3 separate regions of the Homo sapiens genome follow, and all the other regions are linked to region 1. Evidence: promoter capture Hi-C in 16 types of primary human blood cells and fetal thymus (Javierre and others, 2016). All regions are on one chromosome and are shown on one strand. The core of a region is centred on a gene start or on the middle of the fragment in contact, and the rest is flanking DNA. Distances in the headings are between cores, read along the strand shown.

The links. Contacts are between HindIII fragments. The CHiCAGO score rates a contact against its expected background, and 5 or more counts as called.
Region 2: a fragment that was not itself captured here is called in contact with the fragment with the promoter of EPN2 in region 1 in 7 of 17 cell types (total CD8 T cells, neutrophils, endothelial precursors and 4 more); the score reaches 7.7 in total CD8 T cells.
Region 3: a fragment that was not itself captured here is called in contact with the fragment with the promoter of EPN2 in region 1 in 11 of 17 cell types (megakaryocytes, naive CD8 T cells, total CD8 T cells and 8 more); the score reaches 7.8 in megakaryocytes.

The regions. Positions count from the first base shown.
Region 1 is chr17:19,235,910-19,238,747 of GRCh38, reverse strand. It overlaps EPN2 (epsin 2), which reads right to left and starts at 1,382. Exons shown (of 11, transcript NM_014964.5): 1 at 1,217-1,382. RefSeq lists a silencer at 1,005-1,474. The HindIII fragment of the contact is 5,263 bases long and covers 1-2,838 here.
Region 2 is chr17:19,456,206-19,459,043 of GRCh38, reverse strand. The region is part of intron 1 of LOC105371574 (a long non-coding RNA gene); the gene reads left to right. Among named protein-coding and RNA genes, the nearest start is that of LINC02094, 39 kb to the right of the region's middle. RefSeq lists enhancers at 1-510, 511-1,056. The HindIII fragment of the contact is 1,384 bases long and covers 659-2,042 here.
Region 3 is chr17:19,432,617-19,435,454 of GRCh38, reverse strand. No RefSeq gene overlaps it. Among named protein-coding and RNA genes, the nearest start is that of LINC02094, 16 kb to the right of the region's middle. RefSeq lists an enhancer at 1,720-2,258. The HindIII fragment of the contact is 178 bases long and covers 1,289-1,466 here.

The sequences.
Region 1 (2,838 bases), core at 133-2,632:
AAATAAAGGGGAAGGTAGGGTCCTGAACATCTCCCTAAAAGATAAAAAAGTTATTAAATGTGGTAAACAGAGCCTGGAGACCTAGCTTCTAGTTCTGCACTGACACAGTATCACTGCGTGACCTTGGGCAAATTACTGCAGTTCTGGGCCTCAGTTTCCCTCATCTGAACCCTAATGATGGTTAAGCCCTCTCCGCTCTTAAAGCACAGATTTTAGATACGTCCCCAGGGAAGCACAACTGTGAAGGAGTCGCCCAGACGGACTCCTTGGGCGGAGAAACGGCCTTCCACAAGCTCCGGCGGGGGGATTCACAGGGAGCTCAAGCTGCCCCAGGGAAAGCCACTGGGCAAACTTCAGGTCGCAAACAAAAACCTGTTGGCACCGACTCCTCTAGCAAAGGCCAGCCTCCCAACGCGCTCGGCTCTCGGCTCTAGGGGAGCCGCCCCACAGGGAGAGAGAGGAAGTCTCTCCTGGAAGAGGCCAGACCCCACGCACCCATTCACCCACCCGGATCAGCCGAGCAGGACCGCCGGGCCGGGTGGGTCTCTGCCATCCCACGCGGAACAAAAGGCAGCTGGAGCCTGGCTCTTCCGCCCCCGTCCCCGCTGTTCCGTGGGAGTGGGGGCTGGGGAGTGGGGAGCCTGGTCCCCAAGGACGGAAGGGGGCCCTGCTACAGCCCCCAGGAAAGGTGAGACGGGCGGGATCCCGGACAGAGATAAGGACCCCTCCCCCGATTCCCGGAGGGCGCCCGGACCGGGCTCTGCACGGGGGCTGGCGGGAGACCAGGCTGGGCTCAGGAGGAAGGGGCGCCGGGCTCGGGGAGAGGAGGAACGTGCTCTGGGGAGGGGGCGGGGTTGTTCCAAGATGAACGGGGCTCCAGGATCCGAGGTAGGAGTAAGGGGCGCCCTGGACTCTGGGGACATAAAAGGAGATGCTCGGTGATAGGGACGGGTAAGGGGGGAGATCCTTGCAGCGGAAAGCTGGATCCAGATGGGAAGGGGGCCATGCTCCAGTCCGTGGGGCGGGGCCTGGTTGGAAAGAAGGGGATCCCCCAGAGCCTGGCGTAGGGACCAGCGGGGCGGCAGGGGCGCATGCCCTGGCGGGGCTGGTGAGGTAGGGGAGCCTGTGCTCTGGGGGCGTCCGCGCCCTGGAGAGGGGGAGGGTCCTCGCCCCGGGGACTCGCTCTGGCCTTGGAGCCCCACGGGCTGTGGCTCACCTCTGCTCCTCCGGGCCGGCGTGGGTGCGCCGCTGCGGCCACCGGCAGCGCTCGAGAGGCGGGAGCGACCGTAGCCCGCGGAGCCGCCGCCACCGCCGCGTCTGGCTCAGTTTGACACCCACACACCAGCCAACATGGCGGCCGGGAGGGGGCGCGCCGGACGCGTGCGCGCGCCCTCAGGCCCCGCCCCCGAGGCCCCGAGGTCCCGCCCCCACGCCCGCAGACCACGCCCCTGCGACCCCGCCAGAGCCCCTCCCTAGTGGCCCCTGCGCGGCTTCCCCTCCGCCTCCTGCGCTCCAGGACCCCACGCGGACGACCCACCCTTCCGCAGCGCCCCACAGTCGACGCCCGAGCCCCCAAAAAACCCCCAATCCCGAGCGCCACACAAACCCTGGCAAATTAATACCCGAACGCGCGCACTCTAATCCCCTTCAGGCCACTCCACCCCGTACACACTCACGGCCCCCCCACACTCACGGCCGGGCAGCACGCGCAGACCCCGCCCCGTCAAGCAGAAACTCACGCTCCGGCCTGCCGGTTTCACTCAAAAACCTTGTTCAGTAGGAGAGACTGGAAGGGGGCCAGGGCCTGCCGGGCGCTGGTAGGGTTGGGTTCTTAGGCTACAAGTGTGTTCACTTTATGAAGATGCGCGGAAGTACACTTTGGATTTGTGCGCTTTTCCGTGCGTGTATTTCACGTCAATAAAATATACTCAAAAACGGAGAAGTCTCTAGGCTTCTTTAGGCTGCTCAAGGGGTTACCTAAGGGCACGAATGGCAAGGGGTTACCTACATGGCACGAAAACGGAAACCCTTGACTGGCGGGCACCCACAAAGCACCTCCTCTGTGCCAAGCCCTGTGCTGGGCACAGAAATGAGACAGCCCCAAATGCCTCGAATGAGAGTCCCGGAACTGGAGGGGCCAGAACTGGAGGCTGCACCTCAAAGCTGACTAACCTGCTCCAATCAGGGTGGGAGTCAGCAGAGACTTCTCACAGCAGGGGCGCGGAGCATGAGTCAGGGCTTGCTAGGTGGGCAGAGGGCACCATCCCTGTTGCCTGGGTGACATCAACACTCTGCCTAGCCTTGGCTTCAGGGAAGCTGTGGCCAGAAGTCTTCCTCTGCCCTAACTCACTGAGGGACCTTAAACAAGTCACTGTACTTCTCTGAGCCTCAGATTCCTCCTCCCTGTACAGGAACCAGGGGATGAAAGTATCCCTTAAGGTTCTAACAACCCAGGATCTGGAATTCCATTCTCTGGCAAAAAAAAAAAAGGTTGTATCTTTCCAGGAATTCATCTATTTATTGTAAGTTTTTTAGTGTGTGTGCATAGACGTGTTCATAATAGTTTTTGAGGGCTTTTTTGTGTTTGTATGGGGTCGGTGGTAATGTCCTCTTTGCCCTTTCTGATTATGTTTACTTGTATCTTCTCTTTTTTCTTTATTAGTCTAGCTAGTGATACAATAAATACGATAAAAATGGAGAGAGCTTGTAACACGTTTGCAAAACCACATAGCCACTTTTCCTTTGAAAAGTCAAACACTGGTAGCTCTAGATGCTAGAAACACTCTCCAGTTAACCACCCTTCCCACTGCTTGGTGCCCCTTCTCCACCAGCAGAGGG
Region 2 (2,838 bases), core at 101-2,600, 220 kb before region 1:
GCCAGAGTCAGATTGGAAAGTAAGTCACGATATATAGGGTTAAATAAAACTCATCTGATGAGAATTTATGGTTTGTAGAGCATGACTCTCCAGACCCTTTAGATAGGAATTTGGGCAAGATAAGAAAAAAATCAGAGCTTAGTCCTCAAATACCTGTGCTCTGTGTTAGCTTTTTAAACATCGATTACATTTTTTAATACAACCCTGAGAGTGGGTCTTAGAGGCACAATTTGCCAAACAAAAGCCCCCTCGCTCTATTCCTTTTGCCCCAGTTCCTCATATGGAGGTGCCATTTGTGGCGTTCACTCATGTTTGTGTCAGGCCTCTGAGCTCAAGCTAAGCCATCATATCCCCTGTGACCTGCACGTATACATCCAGATGGCCTGAAGTAACTGAAGAATCACAAAAGAGATGAAAATGACCTGTTCCCGCCTTAACTGATGACATTACCTTGCGAAATTCCTTCTCCTGGCTCATCCTGGCTCAAAAGCTCCCCCACTGAGCACCTTGTGACCCCCACCCCTGCCAGCCAGAGAACAACCCCCTTTGACTAATTTTCCTTTACCTACCCAAATCCTATAAAACGGCCCCACCCCTATCTCCCTTTGCTGACTCTCTTTTCGGACTCAGCCCGACTGCACCCAGGTGATTAAAAGCTTTATTGCTCACATAAAGCCTGTTTGGTGGGCTCTTCACAAGGACGCGAGTAAAAGTTTGTCCATCTTCCTCTTTTTAGTGGTGAGGACCCACTTGAAATCACTTGACCAGGCTACTGCGGTGGGTGTGTGGAATGGGGCAGAGGATTTCTGGAACACCTTGTGGAACATGAGGATGAATGATGAAAACCTGTCCGTAGAGCACGGTTGCAGTAGGAGGGTGCCAGGCTGTAAGCAGGGGTTCATGAGCCACAACCTTCCCCTGCTAGGCCTGAGTCCTGAAGTCTCCACTCCTGCATTTGAATGATTAATACCAAGATAATCTGCTTAGCATCCCTCTTTGTCTTGGCTGCCCCCAAGGAAGACATAAAGTCCCTCCCTCCATGTCTGTAACTTTCAAGTGGTTTTCATGTAGAGGAGTTTCATGGATTAGGAAAAGGGAGGGACTGCATTCACCCCAGGCTGCCACCGTTTTCTCAGTTACGCTGCAGTTTTGAACACAGCCTAGGGGTGGAGTGTTGAAGAAGGCCCTTTAAAGAAACCTGAAGTTTTATCAAAAGCTCCAACTGTACAGGGACTTCAGGCTTCAGAATTTCTGCATTTGAGCCAGGTACAGTGGATCACGCCTGTAATCCCAGCACTTTGGGAGGCCAAGGCAGGTGGATCACTTGAGGTAAGGAGTTCAAGACCAGCCTGGCTAACATGGTGAAACCCCATCTCTACTAAAAATACAAAAATTAGCTGGGCATGGTGGCGTGTGTCTGTAATCCCAGCTACTTGGGAGGTGAGGCAGGAGAATCGCTTGAACCCAGGAGGTGGAGTTTGCAGTGAGCCAAGATTGTGCCACTGCACTCCAGCCTGGGTGACAGTGAGACTCCGTCTCAAAAAAAAAAAAAAGATTTTCTGCATTTGAATAGATAAGATCAGCTTGCCAATTTAGGAACAGAGGAAACAGATTTAATGTTAAGTGGTGAGCTGCAGAAAACCACTGTAAACAAAAAATTAAATTCTAAGCCCCCCAAACATCTGTACAGACCCCTCCCCTTAGCCGAGGGCATTTCAAAGTTAACCTGCAAAACCAGTTCAGGCCATGATGAGAAGGGGGAATCAGGTGTGCCTCATTATACCCTTCTCCCTGTTGGAATTCTGGCACAGCTGACCAGCATGAACATCAACACAGAGGCCTTAAGATTGACAGAACAGACTCTCAAGTCTGACAAGAAACATTAACACTCTATTCTCTCTGAAGCCTGCTACGTGGAGGCTTCGCCTGCCTAAAACCTTGGTCTCCACCACCTCTTATTGTAACACAGACACTCCTTTCTATTGATTCTAGAACTTTGATAATAACTCTTTCAACCAATGGCCAATCTGAGCTCAGAAGCTTCCTAAATAATATCAAATACAGTCGTCCCTTGATCTATGTGGGGACTGGTTCCAGGACCAATGGCATATAACCAGATCCCCACATACTCAACTTCCACAGTCAGCCCTGCCAAACCTCCTTGCAGGAAAAGTCAACACTCTGTAAATGTGGGCTTTGCATCCCATGAATACTGTATTTTTCATCCTCATTCGGTTGAAAAAGAGCTGCGTGTAAGTGGACTCATGCCGTTCAAACCTGTGTTGTTCGAGGGTCAACTGTGCAGCGCTATAATCACTGAGTAGCCACAGGGGAGGACAGATCTCCCTCCACAGACTGATTTTGTTTTCCTGAGAACAAGGACCCTCTCCTCCCTCCAGTCACATTGAAACTGGCTTTGCAAAAATTGTAACAGTGAGAAAATTATGGCAGAGGGGGAGATCTGATCTAGCCAACCCCACTCTTGCCTTTAGCCTTCAAGCTGCCTTTAATTATTCCTGGGCTTCGGCCAAGCTAACTTTGAGAGACATTTAGTTTATAGTTTAAATTTTAATAGCCCTTTCCCAAAACTCAATTGCCTTTGTAAAGCTAGTGAGTGACCACCAGGCTAGGAGGAAGAGAAGCCTGGATTCTGCCAAGGAGTACACATAAACAATCACTACCATTATTCCAGAGCTCACAAGACATGCAATTTCCCCACTTACTCCTGCAGATAACATCACTATTGTAGAATCTAAGATTGGCCTTTTGAGATATCTTTTCAGGATTTTTGCATGTCTGACACCAATGGCTCCACCTGGACCCACCAGGATCTGCCAA
Region 3 (2,838 bases), core at 128-2,627, 200 kb before region 1:
CTTGGGAGGCTGAGGCAGGAGAATCTCTTGAACTCGGGAAGTGGAGGTTGCAGTGAGCCGAGATCGTGCCATTGCACTCCAGCCTGGGTAACAAGAGCAAAATTCTGTCTCAAAAATAACAAAAACAAAACAAAAAACCCAACTTGTTTAATCTTGGCCGGGCATGGCAGCTTACACCTATTGTATGCCCGGTACTTTGGGAGGCGGAGGTGGGTGGATCATCTGAGGTCAGGAGTTTGTGACCAGCCTGGCCAATATAGTGAAACCCCGTCTCTACCAAAAATACAAAAATTAGCTGGGCGTGGTGGCACATGCCTACAGTCCCAGCTACTCAGGAAGCTGAGGCAAGAGAATCGCTTGAACCCAGGAGGCGGAGGTGCAGTGAGCTGAGATTGTGCCACTGCACTCCAGCCTGGGCAACACAGTGAGACTCCATTTAAAAAATAAAAAATAAAACTTGTTTAATTCTAAACAGGTCCTGTTAAGAATTCCTTCATTATCCTGTCATGCTTCAAGGCCCAGAAAAGGCCTAAGCAAGACTCTTGGTGGGCTTCTGTTATATTCCAGCCTTTGTATAGGGGCCCTGGGTCTTTCAGCTTTTAATATTTAACCTAACCACTCAGTGCCGAAGCAGTTGGCATGGAGGCCTGCCTGTTCAGCTGTTAGTGAGACCTGGCCTGCCACAGTAGAATTTAATTCAAAAGTTGGTATTAGACGATAGACCAGTAGCATACTTCTCAGTTCTTCTGGGTACCTGGATGCCTTCGAGCTATGGCAGGAGCTGCTACACTTATTATAGGGGCTCAAGCCCTTACTTTGGGTCTTAATAAGAGAGATGAAAAAAACAAACTGCTTTTCCTACTCACACCACTCAACACAACACTTCACTTCTGACACCAGATGTCTGTGGGCTTGTCCTCACACACTAAGCAGTTCTACAGTGGATACCAAGTGGGAGTCCTCCCATTCAATTCAATTCTGACACTCTACCTGGGCATAGTGTCAGATCCCACAGGTTAAGGCTTAGTTCTATTTTCACAAGACTGGCCTATTTTCAGACACCAATTGCAAGTAGCAGGTTGTCACCTATGCATCTAACTGAGCAGCTATAAATTGGGGTTCCCACAACCCCGTTCTAATTTGTTAGGAAGTTCACAGAACTCAAGGAAACATTTACTTATGTTTACCAGCTTATTATATTAGTAAGGAATATTACAGAGGATGTAGATGAATAGCCAGGCAGAAGTGATCCATAGGGCAAGGTATGGAAGGTAAGGGGCAATAAGCTTCCATGTCCTGTCCTGCAGCACACCCCCATGGCATCCTGTAAGCATGCCACCCTACAGACAGCTCCATCTATTCAGCAATTCAGAAGCTCTCTGAACCCCATCTTTTTGGAATGTTCTGGAGGCTCATTATGTAGGCATGATTGATCAATCATTGGCCATTGGTAATCAACTCAAGCTTCAGGCCCTCTCTACTCTCCAGTGTTAGAAGGTGGGGCTGAAAGTGCCAAACCTCTAATTGTATGGTTGGTTTCCGTGTCAACCAGCCCCATCCTAAGGCTATCTGGGAACCCCCAGCCACTAATCATCTCACTAGCATACAAAAAGACACTTATCACTCCAGACATCCCAAGAGTTTAGGAGCTGGTATGCCAGGAACCAGGAACAAAAATCAAAATCACAATATCAAAGCATCTGAAGGAAATCAAATGATTTTACCATAAAATATATTTTCTCGACATAGCTCAAGGCAGATATTCAGAAGGGTTGGAAATACAAAAATAACTAAAAAGCTGCCTTTTGTGGGGGAGATTTGCATCTGTAGAGAAATCTGCACTGATGAAGCCAGGCTGTCTCTGAGGCCTTCCCTCATCCAGATCTGGGAAAGATTAAGCGAGAGTCTGACACCTTTAAAGTCTAACAGAAACATTCACCACCTATTCTCTCTCGAGGGCCGCTACCTGTGAGGCTTCATCTACATAACAAGACCCCCTTTGCTAGCCAGCCCTCCTCTTCTTCCCCTCCATAACCTCTGTTGCCGCCATAAACTGATCTAACACTGTAATCTGGTTTTGGCCCTGCTGTGAGCCCCCATTGTTAATGTAACCTCAAGATAGTACATAAGCTTCAGAACCCCACTGGGGAGTGGGGGTAATCACTGCGATTTTCCTTCTGTGGATATTAGTACATTTCTATGTCATTTCTCCTATTAATTTACCTATTGTGAGTTGATTTTTCAGCAGAATTTTCCCTTGCCCCCTAAGTTTTGGTGCTGTGAGCAGGATACTATTGACAGAAAGGTTACATAACAGGCACTATAACTTAAAGAAATTTAAAGTTAGTTTTATCCCGAGTGAAGTTTGAGGACTAATTCTCTGGGAAATACAGACTCAGAACAAACCAAAAATGTCTCCCCAAGTGGGCTACACGAGATAGTATTTATACATTCTGTTACATGGAAATGGAGAAGCAAAGGTGACATTCCTACAATTCTGATTGGTGCTCAGTGACGTTGTACATAAGATAAAGCAAATACGTGGTTAACATATATAGGGTGTGAAAATAAGTAATTCAAAATCTAAGCTTTTGGAACCTTAAAATATTTTGAGCCTTAAGGGAATGTGATTATGGGACCTGAGTCACATAAACTGGCAGCTGTAACCTAGGAAGCTGTAACTTTTGTTTCCCTGATTATACATTAGTCTTTTTTCTTACCTAAATTATTTTGTAAAATGTTGTAAATGAATGAAGGATGCCAGGGAAGACCCCTTCCCTCTCAACTATTGATCTTCATCATAGATTAACTTCCCTCTTTCCTCTCTCACACAAAGAT